Linked DNA regions of Homo sapiens: all the other regions are linked to region 1. The links are contacts of gene promoters, found by promoter capture Hi-C in blood cells and fetal thymus (Javierre and others, 2016). All regions are on one chromosome and are shown on one strand. Each heading gives the region's core, a stretch centred on a gene start or on the middle of the fragment in contact. The rest is flanking DNA. Distances are from core to core; before and after follow the strand shown. Region 1 holds the start of TMEM165 (transmembrane protein 165). Region 2 overlaps EXOC1 (exocyst complex component 1). Region 3 has its middle 120 kb from the start of LINC02358. Region 4 has its middle 120 kb from the start of KDR.

Region 1 (3,574 bases), core at 412-2,911:
CAGATAAATCACCCTTAACCAAGAAATTTTAGGGAAGTCTTCACAGAGAGTAGGTATCTGCTGGTTCTCCAAGGTGGGAAGAGTTGATCCGTGGCTTCAAACTCCAGGTCTTTTTTTTTTTTTCTTTGAAAAGGTCTTGTGTTAGGGAGGAACTGGCAAGAGAGCACAAAGCCTGTCCCAAAGGGCTCTTGAAGCACATTCTTTTTTGCAGATGAGCATATCCCTTTAGCATATGAGCAAGAAAGCGGTGGCTAAAAAGCCTGGAGGTGAGCTGGAGCCAGATCAGAAGAAACCTGAACATCACTCTCCTAAAAAGGCTGGACTGAAATTAGTGGAGGCAACTCACCGACGACTTCTGACAAGATGGCAGAATTCAATGTTCGGGAAGATTAGTTACGTGGAGATGGGCTGGATGTGGCCTGGGTGGGAGTGGGGGTTTGAGTGCCACACTGGCCGGGATTCAGGGAGCAGATACTGGAAATGACGACAAAGCCCACGACTGGGAGAAGGGAGAAATGTTAAAACGCTGCCAAGTGACTAAGGACTAATTCTATTAACAGATTAAAAAGTTGATTTCTAGTATCTATTCAGGGAAGGACAAAATACAGGATTCTGTTTTACTTATAAATGTAGTTTTGGCATCCCACATCGCTGCAGCACGCTGTACTGCCGGAGACTAATTCCTCTGCGTTCCTAAAGGCTACTTCCTGCTAGCCAAAGCACATTTTTAAAAAGTGAGAGTCATGGTTCATAATCCATATTTGGCAAAAAGCACAGGCAGTGCCAAGTTGAATTTGGGTAAGCAGTTTGGCATAAGCTATTTCAACAATGAAATGGCCGATGTGATGATCCTCAGGGAATACAAAAAGCCTCCTAGCAGCCTTCTGTTAAAAACTTTTTGGTAGGGATGAGTCTTTCTAGCTACTCTAAGACACATCTGATCAATAAAACGCCCATCCCGGAGCAGCATCTTGGCCCTCCGGAGATCAACGTTTATAGCGGGCTCCTCTTGGACTCTCCCTCTCCCTTTCCCTAAAGGAGCGGGCAAGACCAGGCCTCACCGGAAAACAGCGCAGCCGACCGCCCTCCACCCCGGGAGCAGGGGCCGGGCTCCCCTCCCCCAGCCGAGGCCGGCGGAGTGCGGCGCTTTCAAAGGCCTGGAGCCTGGTACTCGGCGCAGCCGGCCCTGCAGCCTCGCTCGCCCCATCCCGGCCCGCTCACCTCGACCCGGGCCGGCTCGGGGCCCTGCACAGCCACAGGCTGCGGCTGCAGCTGCTGGGCCGGCGCCGGCGGTTCTTTGTTCCGGTGGCTAAGGTCTTCATCTGGGCCGGCCCGGACCGCAGCCGGGGCCCACAGCAGCGGAACCAGAAAGAGCAGAAGCAGCCGGGGCGCCGATGCGCGGCCGTTCCCTGGAGCCGCGGCCGCCATCCCGCCTGCCGGGCCGGCCGCGCACGGGCGCCGCAAGAGGAAGTGCCGGCGACGGGAAGCCTCGACCCCGAACAGCCTCCGCGGCGCGTCCTCACGACTCGCCGCCGCCGCCGCTTAGGGAGCAGTCAGCACCATCCGGGAGGTGCAAGCAGCGGGAGTGAGGTGAGGGGCAGGCCGAAGTCCGCAGCCCCGGCTCGGCGCCCGTCCTCTCCGGCGGCGGCTAAACTGGAGTCAGCCAGCTGCCTCGGCGCGGCCCAGCCCCGACTCCTCCCGGCCCCGTCCCTGCCCGCGACGGCCTCCCATTGGCCCGGCGACCGCCTTGGCGTCGTGACGTCCTCTGCCAGGTTGAGGTGCGGCGCGGGCCCTCCTCCCATTGGATCCGGCGCTCCCGGCAGGTACCCGGCGCCGCGTGTCCTTCCTCTGCTCGCATCCTCACCGCGCCGCGCCCGGGGCTCCCTTTCTCTCTCTGTGCCCCACCGTCCCAGGACTGCGAGGTCCTTCACTTCTGCTTCCTCCAGAGCCTTCCGCCGTAATGTCCGCACCCGCTGTTCCCTGCGCTTAGTCTCTCTTAGAGGTCAAATTAGTGCGAGCGCCTCTGGTTACGTGGCGCTGACTCGCAGGCACTGCCACGCCCAGCTCTGTTCCGCTCTCCCCCGCCGAGCCTCTGTGCCACCCTCCATGTGGCCACCTACCGCCAAAAACGTTCTTAGGAGCTCAAAATGCTATTTTTTTTTTAAAGTTCTGAAATGGGATTTGGAAATAACATGACATTTTTCAAGCCTTGTTTTAAGATACTGCCTATAATTACCCCAGACCAAAAATGGCTAACGTTGCCCTTGTCCAGTATGGCCTTGACGTTTTGGGTGCATCTTGTTTTGTGCTATTCCTTAGACCCTTTAAAAATGCTGGGCTTTTGAAATGGACTGTTTAAGACTTTTGCAGGATGGAGCTTTGAGTGGGCAAGACTAGAAGACAGGAAAGGATGGTCTTGAGTTAGGCTTGAGAATATTTTTACGTCTTCCCAAAAGAAAAAGTGAGCTACTTAATTACCATAAGTTTGAGACCTAGTCCCTAATAAAAATCGATAGTGCTAACCATGTGCCAGGCACTAATCTAATATTATACATATTTACATACAGTAAACCTGTACTCAGTAAAGAGCTAAGGAAGTTTATCACTAACTGAAACAAAAAATTAATCCACCAAAACAATCTGTGGGAAAGTGGGCAAACCTACTTTGAGTTCACCAAAGATACAGTGTTTGTCACAGGATAATAAAATTTCCGTCTGTTTTTTTGTTTTGTTGTTTTCTTTGTTTTTGTTTTTGAGACGGAGTTTCGCGCTTGTTGCTCAGGATGGAGTGCAATGGTGAGATCTCGGCCCACTGCAACCTCCTCCTCCCGGGTACAAGAGATTCTCCTGCCTCAGCTTCCCGAGTAGCTGGGATTACAGGCATGCTCCACCATACGCGGCTAACTTTGTAATTTTAGTAGAGATGGGGTTTCTCCATGTTGGTCAGGCTGGTCTCGAACTCCAGACCTCAGGTGATCTGCCGGCCTCGTCCTCTCAAAGTGCTGGGATTACAGGTGTGAGCCACCGCGGCCGGCCTCCGTCCATGTTATTCTGTCCGTAATTCCCCTTCTTCCATTCTCTCCTTGTAAACTCCTACTCATACTTCCAAAACCTATTCAAGCTTCCACTCTCAGAACTTTTCCCCAACACATGGCGTTACAGAATTTGTCACTTGTTCCTTCATGTTATTGCTTTATGCATTCTTCTATTACTGTGTAAGTAGGATGCCTCCACTTACAGTTTGGGGTGTGTTAAAAGAAAAACCTTAGACAAATTAAACTTAACAGCGTTTAATCAAGCAAAGAACCCAAAGAATGATCTGCAAATCAAAAAGACCCCAAATCAAAGTAAGTTCAGAGAGGCTCCAGTCTTGCCGAGTGGTCGGAAAAAATAAAGTGACTTACAGAAAACATAATTGAGGGACAGAAACAGCTGGATTGGTTGTAGCTCAGGTTTGCCCTATTTGAACACGGTTTGAACAGTTGGCCACTTGTGATTGGCCAGAACTCTGTGATTGGTACAAGAATAGGTTACAGTCTGTTTACATACCCAATTAGGCTACAGTTCACCATGT
Region 2 (3,574 bases), core at 487-2,986, 470 kb before region 1:
ATCCAGAATCTCAGCCAACTGTCTTCATTGGCTTAACAGGAATAGTTCATCTTTTGAACAAGAACAGTAAAAGACTGATGGCAGCTGGTAATGTGCTTATAGATAAAGATGGCAATAACACACTATAAAGGCTTAAGTGCTGAGGTAGTATAATATGAACATCATTAGCCTTCTCAATCCACTATACATCACTTATTCATAGAATTCAGGAAAGTCTTACCCCATCTAGCACCTGCAGCTCTCTGGACAATTTTTCTGCAAAGGCTTCCGCATTCGAGATTGCATATTCACAGCCTTCCATCATTATTTCGATATCCTGTTCTTCTCTTGCATTTAACTCTTGGTATTCATCTACTACTTCTTCATCACCTCCTGTCACACTCTGATTTTCTCCACTTGGAACAGATTCTTAAAGAGGTAAAAATTCAAAGTAAAATAGTCAAAAAAGTAGAAAAGACTATAACATAATACATATAGGTAGGTATAGTTATAAGCACAGGTCACATTTAGCAGCTGAAAAAGAGGATAGAATGATTCAAATGATATGAAAAAATCAAACTTTATTTTTATAAATAATTTAATATGTTAATGAAATAAAGTTCTAAAAAATAAATAAAAAGCATGCAGTCTAATGCACTAACTTACAAATGTTAAAACAGGCTTTCACCACAGTTTCCCAAAATACAATTAAGCTAAAATGTAAAAACAAAATACAAAAACAGGTGGGAACAAACCTAAACATTTTTTCGTACCTGATGTGGCTGTTGCTCTAACAAAACAATGACTATGAATTCAGTACACACAAAAACAATTTGCTTTCCTTTTTTTCCCAGGTGAAATTTTTCTTTTGTTACTTTTGTTACTTTCATCTTCAGTATGTATATTTTTGCCAAATACTTTTTAATTAAAATGAAAAATGCATCTATAATCCATAATTTATTTTGGTCACTAGAATATTAACTGAATTATCCATTTCTTTGCTTAAAAAAATTTCACATGCATTGATAACATTTCTAAAGATAAGTTACAGCTTTCTCAATAACTCTAAGTAAGAGCAACAACAACATGGCTGTTTGAAATTATAAAAAGTTAAACAGGCTTCATGCTTTATAACAAAAGACCAAGAGGTCAAACCTGAAATGCTTTCTAGATGTTTCAGTTCATTTTTTTTTTTTTTTTGAGGAAATACACTAGCATGTGAGCACTGTATATAAAGCTTGAGGTTAGGAGGTAAAATGAAAGAAATCATTTTTAACTCCTAAGATGTTGTTTTATCACTCTAAATAAAGTTAGCAATTTCACAGACTTAATGGGGCATGATTTAAACCACAAACTCTGGATGCTTTTAGTATTCATTATTTTATAGGAAAATGAATATTTACATTCAGCATGACCTGAAATACGTTCATTTGTCCCAGAACAAAAAGAAGACTAAAACTTTTGGTACAGGCAATTACAGATTTTAGTATATAAGTTCTTTAGAGAGATATTACCGATCTCCTTGTCCTTTCAACGAGTCCATTTAATTCACTGCGAAAAAGTTCAACTGTCATGTGTGACAGCTTATTAGCCACTAGGGGGCAGGGACTGCCCAAATCATTCTGTACAGGTCCTTACACAAGTAGACTTAAACAAATATTTTACATGATTATAATTAACTGCTTCAGAAGTATTTTCTAATGATATGTCCTTGAAAGCCAATAATAAATACTATCATTAATTTTATTACTATGTAGATTTTTAAAATAAATTTGTCCCAGTACATCATTTCATAAAACATACAACCAACGGTATATAACAAAGGCAACTAATAAAAACATATGGAATAGAAGAAGAAAAGGTGTTACGCACCTTCTGTAACTTTAGGCAGTTCTGGAGAGTAAAAAGTATGAAAAAAGCAGAGGAAAGTAAGCAAAGAATATTAGCTGGGTAGAAAAGTAAACAGGCTTAAATTTTTAAAATACTACCCATATCTCATTTGAACTTCATGTTAAAGTTCAAAAGACAGCCAAATCAACTACCAAGTGGAAAGATCCATAAGAAGCTAAATTTGCCGTGTTCATTTTTCTTATTCACTTTCTGATAGTGACTACAAATATATTTATCTTTCTAATTTCTCTTAGTCTTTTAAGAAACAGCACTAACTAACCCTTAGAGGAGAAACCTGGCAAACTAATCATTTCCTGGGGATTATATTTAGGTCAGTTGTGACTCATGCATGTAGCCTAGTTATGTTACTTAAGGCCCAAAAGCTTTACCCAGACACTCCCTCACAGAGGATTAGTCACAAAACATGGTTAGAAAGGACAAGATTGAGGCAAGTAAAAAATTACACAAAATAACAGTTCAAGCCAGCATTTAAGGATTCAAGTCAAAGATTCTTTTTTAAAAAGCTGGTTGCAAGTAAAAGAATGAAAAAAAAGGCCAAATAAAAACTTCAATCTACTTCAACTGCTGAAAAGTCCTCTTTTACAAACCTTATTCTGCTGAGGAGCCCCATTATTTAACTTACGTATTCAATTGTCAACAATAAAAACTACCAAGTTGCCACTGCTACCATTTATAATCAAAATAGTCTTACTTAATTATTGAGCTCTTAAACTGGGGTGGTAATAATTTTTTATTTGTTTTCTAACATCACTCAAAACTTAGAGACATTTTTTTTTAATGGGAATTAAAGGCTGTAATTTCAAGGTCCATAAAACAAGTTTGTAGACATTAATGAAGCTATTCCCTGAACTCCACTAAACCAAAGCAAGAGTTACTGACGTATATAGCAAGTGATTTTCAAAATGAGATCCTTAAGGATCTTCTCAGTATTCTTAAAATCGATCTCAGTTAGGGTTAATGTTTATACACATGAACGTGTCTATACTCTTGTTTTATGGCCTGAAAAATTGAATGCCTTTTTTTTTTTAAGTTAGACACTTCATTTTCAAAAACAGTAATACTCTTCTCACTGATTTTGGTAGTATTTCTTAATGAGGCAGATCCAGGTAGGGTATGTATTTTTCTATATGACTGTCCTGAAATATACTGGTTTAAAATCACCTTACACAATAAATAACATCTGGAAATGCATAATATTTGAAGACAGAACAGCAAGCTTGTGAATCACTGAATCACTGACTCATCAGAATGTTCAACCCTGAAATGTTAAAAAAAATAAAAGCCATTCGAAGCAAATTAAACCACGATTCAAGGCATGAAAAGTTACCATAAATTTCTTGAAGGTCATTCCCTCTACACACTCAATTACCAAGATGTTGGGGACTAGTGTTGGTGAGATGGCAACCCTGGGGATTCCTACATAAGACCAGCACTACTGGTGGCTGACATATGTGACTTGTTTCTGCCAGTGCCAAGCATCAAGCCTAAAATCAGCAGCAGGCTCACTGATTACTAAGTGCTATCTTACAATGTTTGTATCTTTAGGAAAGAAATTTTAAAAGTAGAGAAAATCTCATATTTTCACTAATTAATGGTAGAGTTTTTGTCTTGTAACACAAAATGATGCATAGTAACATTCCTGAAGATATACTGATCAAAAATATTCTAATAATCTTCATGTCTA
Region 3 (3,574 bases), core at 486-2,985, 430 kb after region 1:
TGAATATAAGAAAAAGTTTTTCTAAATAAGATGATAGGGCAGGATTCATTTTTGTCTTTGTAGTTCTCAGCTTTCTCCTATGTTCAGTCAAGTATTCCATCTTGAAATAGCTGAATTTAATTAAACTAACAACTCCATGTAAGATCTTAGCAGGATAACAAAAATCATGGTTTGAGGGCAAAACCTTAAATTCAAAGGTGAATGAAGCTTTGATGATGGTTAGGATACATCTGCCTTTAAAAATTGGGTTACCTGCTCTGTCTGGTAAATTTGAGGCAGACATAACTGTTCTTCTTCTGTACCAACATCCCCAAACACCCTGACCTGTTAAAAAAAAAAAAAAAGTGAAGTTTCTCATTTGCAGCAGGGACTAGAGCACAGGAATGCAAGAGGAATAGAAATGGGAAGTCTGGAAAAGGCAAAATCTCCTTTGAAGAATGTCCAGATCTCCTTCCCAGACCCACTGCTGACCTGGGATAAGTTCCCAATCATTCCCTGAAATTAAAAAATGTAGTCTTCTTGTTCCTTAAAGAGAGATGCTCCTTCTCCAACCCTGAAGATGTGACACAGGACCAAAGTTATTTTCCTACCTGACGTAGAAGCCTGAGGCCTGGCAGAGCCTGCTTCTGTGCCTCTGAGAGTCCAGTTCCTCTGAATCTGACTCAGAAAGCAGCCTTATTTTAACTAGCCAGGCCAGCCTATCCTCTCACTTTCTCCCTACCTAATAGAACCCTGTCTGGGGAAGGAGTAGCCATATATCTATCTGATGTGTGAAAATAATGAAACAAAGAAAAATCCTCTAAATTTCCCAAACTCCTTTGCAGATAGAAGTAGCCAAGTTTTGGCTGGTGAAATAGAAGTGGAAGTTGTTGAGAGGAACTTCCTAGAGAAGCTCCTTAAAAAGGGGTTGACTCCCATGGCATACTGTTTTGTCCACTGCTCTTCTCATTCTTCTTGTCTGGAGCTTGAACAGGATGGCTAGAACTCTGGCAGCCATCTTGAGGCCACTAGACAACCTTTAAAGATGACTGAACAGAAATGTAAAAGGAGTCTAAGTCCCTGGTGAATTGTGAGCTACCATTCCCACCCTGGACCTCCCATGTCCACATTCTTCATTACCTGAGAAAAATAAGTTTCCTAATTTGTTTAAACCTATGTTTTGGGGGACCTCTTTTACTTGGAGCTTAACACAATTCTTAACTGATACAAAGGGCTTTAGTAAAAAACATACTTATATTTAAAATCTGCTTAGCTCTCATATTCAATCTGTTCCTATAGTCATTAGAAAAAAAGTGTTGTGCAAAAGCCAAAATTGACAAATGGATCTAATTAAACTAAAGAGCTTCTGCACAGCAAAAGAAACTACCACCAGAGTGAACAGGCAGCCTACAGAATGGGAGAAAATTTTTGCAATCTACTCATCTGACAAAGGGCTAATATCCAGAATCTACAATGAACTCAAACAAATTTACAAGAAAAAACAAACAACCCCATCAAAAAGTGGGCGAAGGATATGAACAGACACTTCTCAAAAGAAGACATTTATGCAGCCAAAAGACACATGAAAAAATGCTCATCATCACTGGCCATCAGAGAAATGCAAATCAAAACCACAATGAGATACCATCTCACACCAGTTAGAATGGCGATCATTAAGAAGTCAGGAAACAACAGGTGCTGGAGAGGATGTGGAGAAATAGGAACACTTTTACACTGTTGGTGGGACTGTAAACTAGTTCAACCATTGTGGAAGTCAGTGTGGCGATTCCTCAGGGATCTAGAACTAGAAATACCATTTGACCCAGCCATCCCATTACTGGGTATATACCCAAAGGACTATAAAACATGCTGCTATAAAGACACATGCACACGTATGTTTATTGCGGCCCTATTCACAATAGGAAAGACTTGGAACCAACCCAAATGTCCAACAACGATAGACTGGATTAAGAAAATGTGGCACATATACACCATGGAATACTATGCAGCCATAAAAAATGGTGAGTTCATATCCTTTGTAGGGACATGGATGAAATTGGAAATCATCATTCTCAGTAAACTATCGCAAGGACAAAAAACCAAACACTGCATGTTCTCACTCATAGGTGGGAACTGAACAATGAGAACACATGGACACAGGAAGGGGAACATCACACTCTGGGGACTGTTGTGGGGTGGGGGGAGGGGAGAGGGATAGCATTTGGAGATATACCTAATGTTAACTGAGGAGTTACTGTGTGCAGCACACCAACATGGCACATGTATACATATGTAACAAACCTGCACATTGTGCACATGTACCCTAAAAGTTAAAGTGTATATAAAAAAAGAAAACAGACAATAAAGAAAATTAATAAAAAAAAAAAAAGAGAAAAAGTGTTGTGGAGTTTGGAATAATTTTCCAGAGAACCGATGGGCCCATGATTTGGGGAAGATGAAGGGCTGATCTTTTTGAAAAAGGAGCCAACCACATGTAATGCCTATGCTGAGGAATGAATAATTCTTAGAGGGGCTAGTAGAGCAAATGGTTTAGCTGGGATTGGGTCAACCATTTGGAACAGTATTGAATCAGTTGTGGAGGGTGGAAGTTCTTTTCATCTCAGGATAATTAATCCCATGTGTAATGTTGGACAAAATTACCTGATCCTAATTAGCAAGAGTCATGTGGCCTTCAAAATATGATTTATGCTATAAAATTGAAAGAAATTACATACACAGTCCTCAATGGAAGATCATGTCTCACAATTTCTCTTGCAGGGAAAAGGTGGTTAGGAATATGAGATTTGGAAGAATATGAGATTAGGGTCATATTCACCTCGGTTCGAACCTGGCTCAGTTCATTATTTTGACACAATTATTTACATTGCTAAACCTGTATTCTCATCTACAGATTGGGGTATATATATACTCATAGTCCCAACTTAAAGGGTACTTGTAAGGATTAAGTGAGGTTTACTCATACTTACTGAACTTCCTGGTATACGAGCAGGTGCTTAATACAAATATGAACACCAATAAAAGTTCAATGTGGGCAATTTTGCTCCCAGAACCTCCAGTGTTTAGCCAGTTCTCCTATGGCCTGGACACAGGTGGTAAGGTTATTCTTCAGGATCTATTGATATGGTTACCAGGGAAATCACTCCCAAAGGCTTACACCCTTGGCTTTAGCTCAGTCAGACAGTACAGTCCTACTGCTGAGAATGCCAGAGCCCTTAGTTTTCCAGACTTTGTTTAATTGGTTTAGTTGCCTGGAGCAAAGCTTCTCTTCACCACACCCCCTTGACTTCTCACCCTTCCAGACCCTAGCTCATACATTACTTCCTCTCTTAGCTTTACCTTGGTACCCGTGAATAAAAAGTGAGTCCCTCCTAAAAAACATCAGGCATACTTTCTCTGAGCCTTTACAATTATTTGTATCCCCTGCCAGGCTGTGTGCTCCTGAAAGGCAGGGATGATGAGTTATTCATCTTCATCTCCCAACACTTACTTTATACCTGGCATGTAGTAGGCCATCAGCAAATGTTTATAGGAACAAAATGTTCAATGTTGTGAACATTTATTGCTCCTGGATGGA
Region 4 (3,574 bases), core at 562-3,061, 390 kb after region 1:
TTTGAAAAATCACCTGAACACCAGGTGCATTTTTTCAAAAACGCATCTACCCCAAGAGGAAGGGGTAGATGTGACTCTGCCTCTTCCTCTTTAACAATGGGGTTTGAATTCACAGATGATTACAGTAAATTCATCAGCCCCAATGGAGGGAGGGGGAGGGTCAGTTCTGTGAGGTGTTGGTCATCACTTAGGTAGATCTAATTTCCAGAGTGGCCCTGAACAGAAAATGGTTAAGAGAACTCCAAGGACCAAGGTGATCAAGAGAAGGGCATTAGGCAACAAGCAAAGCCAAGAGGGAGCAATTCAGTCTGAAAGTTCTGTGAGCCAAGGCCAGATTCCAGGAGAGCTTCAGAAAGCGCTGAGCCATACTCGTAACTGCAAGGGGATTCAAAACACGGGGATGGGGCCCCTTGTCTCCAGCTGATTTGTCTTGGGTGTGCCCTTTGGATTCCAGGTCTCATTCTCCACCCAGAGAGTGGAATCTTGGAAGCTGTTCCCTTTTGTTGAGCCTTTAACCTTTCCTTTCACTCCGGCTCACCCCAATTCCAAAAGCTGCCCATTTTTTCATCAACGAAACCATTTCATCATTGCTCCTTCTGCTTCAAAGCCACTCTCTCTGCTACCCACAGAGAATAACTAACTGCTGCCTTGTCTCAGACCTCCCTGACAGTGAAAGAGAGAGACACCAGATCTTGCTGTCAACTAATTATCATGGTCCTGCCTCAGGGCCTTTGCTCAGGCTGCTGTGCCAGGCTGGAAACTTTATCAACATATCTGCCTAGCTACTCCCTTCACAGTAAACCTGTGCTCAAATTTTACCTTTTTCCTAAGGCCTTCTCTATTGTATTTAATACCTTACTTGCCCAATCCCCCTACTCCACTTTACTTTTTCTTTTTTTATATACCTATCTTATAGCATATTATCTAACTTATTTACTATGTTTATTGTTTATTTCACCCAACTAGCATATAAAGTTGCTGAGGGCATGGGTGTGACCCCAGAGCATAGAGTAGTGCCTGGCTGCTGATTAAGTATCCATTGAGGGATGAATGCTCTTTCAGCCAGATAATGCATTACCTTTCCCATGATTACTTTTATGCTTATTGGCAGTGGATGCTAATATCATCAAGGTGCACTGTGTTATGTGGAGGTACCATGTCTGCTCCAGGATCCTCTGAAGTATTCTTGATATTCAGTACGTTCCTCCTGGACACATAGGAATAAAACAAAGGATAAATAATTAATCTCCGATAAGCATCAAGGATTAAAGAGAAAAGGGTTGATGCCAATAGGCAGATTTGTAAACAAATGCTTTTTAACTAGGGGTTGAATTCTGAGCCCTGAGAACTGTCCCTTGGTATGAACTCTCATGAAGTCAGAAGGTGGCAAGCCAGCAAACATGGACCATGCTGCAATCAACAAGGTCAGCAAAGAATTTACATGCAGGAAATCATCTATTTTTAATATTGCAATTGCTTTCCTGTTTTCCTTTATTCCAAATGTTACCACAGGAGCCCAATTCCAAGAGTTTTGTTTGAATGCTTTCCTCTCCTATTTTTCTTCTTTAAATTTGGATGCGACCTTGTATTTCCAGAGAGCAAATGTTCTCTTGTTATTTTAAGAAAACCAGGAGGCTGGGTCATCTGTCAGGCTGAACAATGCTGGACGGATCTAAAGTGTTGGGGTCCCAAGGGTGGTGATTCTAAGTGGGAAGGCTGAGAGTGAGCTCCCTCTGGGGAAATGTAAAAGGATATGCAACAAGCAAAGGGTTGAATTTGTGCTGGGTGAGCCAGCCCAGAGAAGCAGGAGATGTGTTGCCAAGCTGGCAGAACTTGCAGTGAGTATCCAATAGTCCAGCCCCCACCCCACTCCTACCTCACCACATCCCTGTGGAGTTGAAGAAAGACATTCCTTTCATGCCCAAAGCAGTCCAAGCCCCTCCTAGATTTTTCTGGCTAATTATCTGTTCTTCAGCTGAGGTTTTGTAGACCTTGTATTTTCCAAGCACTAAGATTGCAAAGTTTTGGCAACTGTTTGATTATCACTCAGCAATGAAACCTATTTGCTTTATCTTTTGATGATTAGCTCTTTGTAGTGCCATGGTTGGCAAAGGCTGGGAGGGAACAGAAGCAAATGTGGTCAAGAGATTTGCTGAACATAAATTCTTTCTTGTAATGCAGTTAACATGGAGCCACTTCTTGGCCTGGTTAATGCAGAGTTCACTGTGTCCCAAAGCCCAAGGCTTGTCCTCACCTCGGTGTGGCTGAAGGAGTGGAGTTGAGTTGATGGATTCTTGATCCTTCTTGGAGTCTAATCCCTCATCTTCAATCAGCCTCCTTGGCCCCAGGTTATGCACCGTTTCAGCTCTGTAGCAGCAGTCCCAAGAAAGGCACTTCCCTCTCTGGGAAGTAGCCCCTGGACTTCCTGACTTAACCTTGCAGATGTTTCCGTAATTTCTCCTGGAAGTCTTGATGGTCTGGTGCCCCTGCAAGCCCTAGATTCTTGCCTGCAACCTCTTTCTATGTCTCGTGTTTGGTTTCTCTGAGTCATATTCAGATGCCCAGGTTGGGTCCCTCTTTGCCAATGGCTGGATCTACCTATTTTTCTGGTGACTTTGACAGACTCCTGAGAGGAATGGTTTCATAGAAGGACTTTAAGCACACTCCTCTCTCACAAAGGCAAGGATTAGCATAGTAACTCAGACAGCAATGACTGCTGCGTACCTGACCCAGAACTTTTCATATTCAAAATGATTTCACACATTAACTGATTAATCCAAGTGGAGTTGAACAGTAAGCAACACTACCCTATACTAGAAGAGAGAACCTGCTGAGGGTAAATATTTCATCACTGGTCAGGGCAGAAGCCCAGGGAAGTGCTCTCACCACCAGTAGCATCTCCAGAGCAGGAGTTACATTTTAGAAAAACAAAGCCTCCTACCTTATAAGAACCAAGCATGTAACCCCTTGTTCTAGTCACTCAGCACTGTTATCTCAGGTATCCATGTACTTTCAAACTGTTATTAGTTGAGCCATAACTGGCCTATTAATATCACATATCTTGTTCTACAAAGAATATATAGAAAATACATATAATAAAATACAAATTTAAAATTAAGTAGCAGCACCAGATAAATGAAATTAGAACAAGTGCGGAAGGGAGATGAGCAAACCCAAAAGATCTTACACACTTGCAATGACTGAGCAGTAAATTTGCCTCAGAGCTTCCTCGTGGTCAAAGCAGAGAAGGAAACATGGTCATTTATTATGCACAAATGGAAAAATACCTTTTCCTCAGCAAGTGAAGTATTTTGCTTTTAGTTCTGAAGGAGTTGTCTCATGAAGGGCTTTAGCAAATGAAGTAATGGTTTTTATAAAGTTATCTCCTTCATAATATATCTATTAAGTGAAACCTTGGATAGGTCAGGGAACCTCTCTGAACAGTGTTTTGCCATTGTGTCCATCCGCTTTAGGGAATCCATCACCTATGCCTCGGCAGACCTGAAGCTGATTCAGTTTGATGTATGTATCCAATGACTTCATGTGTGAAGCACATGTGTGCTAGGTCTTCTGG

Evidence for each region. The method cuts DNA at HindIII sites, captures the fragments that hold promoters and counts their contacts. A CHiCAGO score of 5 or more calls a contact.
Region 2: a contact is called between a fragment that was not itself captured here and the fragment with the promoter of TMEM165 in region 1, in 6 of 17 cell types (total B cells, erythroblasts, naive B cells and 3 more). The highest score is 12.9, in total B cells.
Region 3: a contact is called between a fragment that was not itself captured here and the fragment with the promoter of TMEM165 in region 1, in 1 of 17 cell types (M1 macrophages). The highest score is 6.0, in M1 macrophages.
Region 4: a contact is called between a fragment that was not itself captured here and the fragment with the promoter of TMEM165 in region 1, in 1 of 17 cell types (endothelial precursors). The highest score is 5.2, in endothelial precursors.

Annotation. Positions count from the first base shown.
Region 1 is chr4:55,394,044-55,397,617 of GRCh38, reverse strand. It overlaps TMEM165 (transmembrane protein 165), which reads right to left and starts at 1,661. Exons shown (of 6, transcript NM_018475.5): 1 at 1,222-1,661. The coding sequence starts at 1,428. RefSeq lists silencers at 986-1,455, 1,656-1,855. The HindIII fragment of the contact is 4,477 bases long and covers 1-3,123 here.
Region 2 is chr4:55,865,170-55,868,743 of GRCh38, reverse strand. EXOC1 (exocyst complex component 1) reads right to left here. Exons shown (of 19, transcript NM_001024924.2): 5 at 221-408. Among named protein-coding and RNA genes, the nearest start is that of EXOC1, 13 kb to the right of the region's middle. The HindIII fragment of the contact is 1,036 bases long and covers 1,219-2,254 here.
Region 3 is chr4:54,967,432-54,971,005 of GRCh38, reverse strand. No RefSeq gene overlaps it. Among named protein-coding and RNA genes, the nearest start is that of LINC02358, 120 kb to the right of the region's middle. The HindIII fragment of the contact is 3,052 bases long and covers 210-3,261 here.
Region 4 is chr4:55,003,236-55,006,809 of GRCh38, reverse strand. No RefSeq gene overlaps it. Among named protein-coding and RNA genes, the nearest start is that of KDR, 120 kb to the left of the region's middle. The HindIII fragment of the contact is 3,743 bases long and covers 1-3,574 here.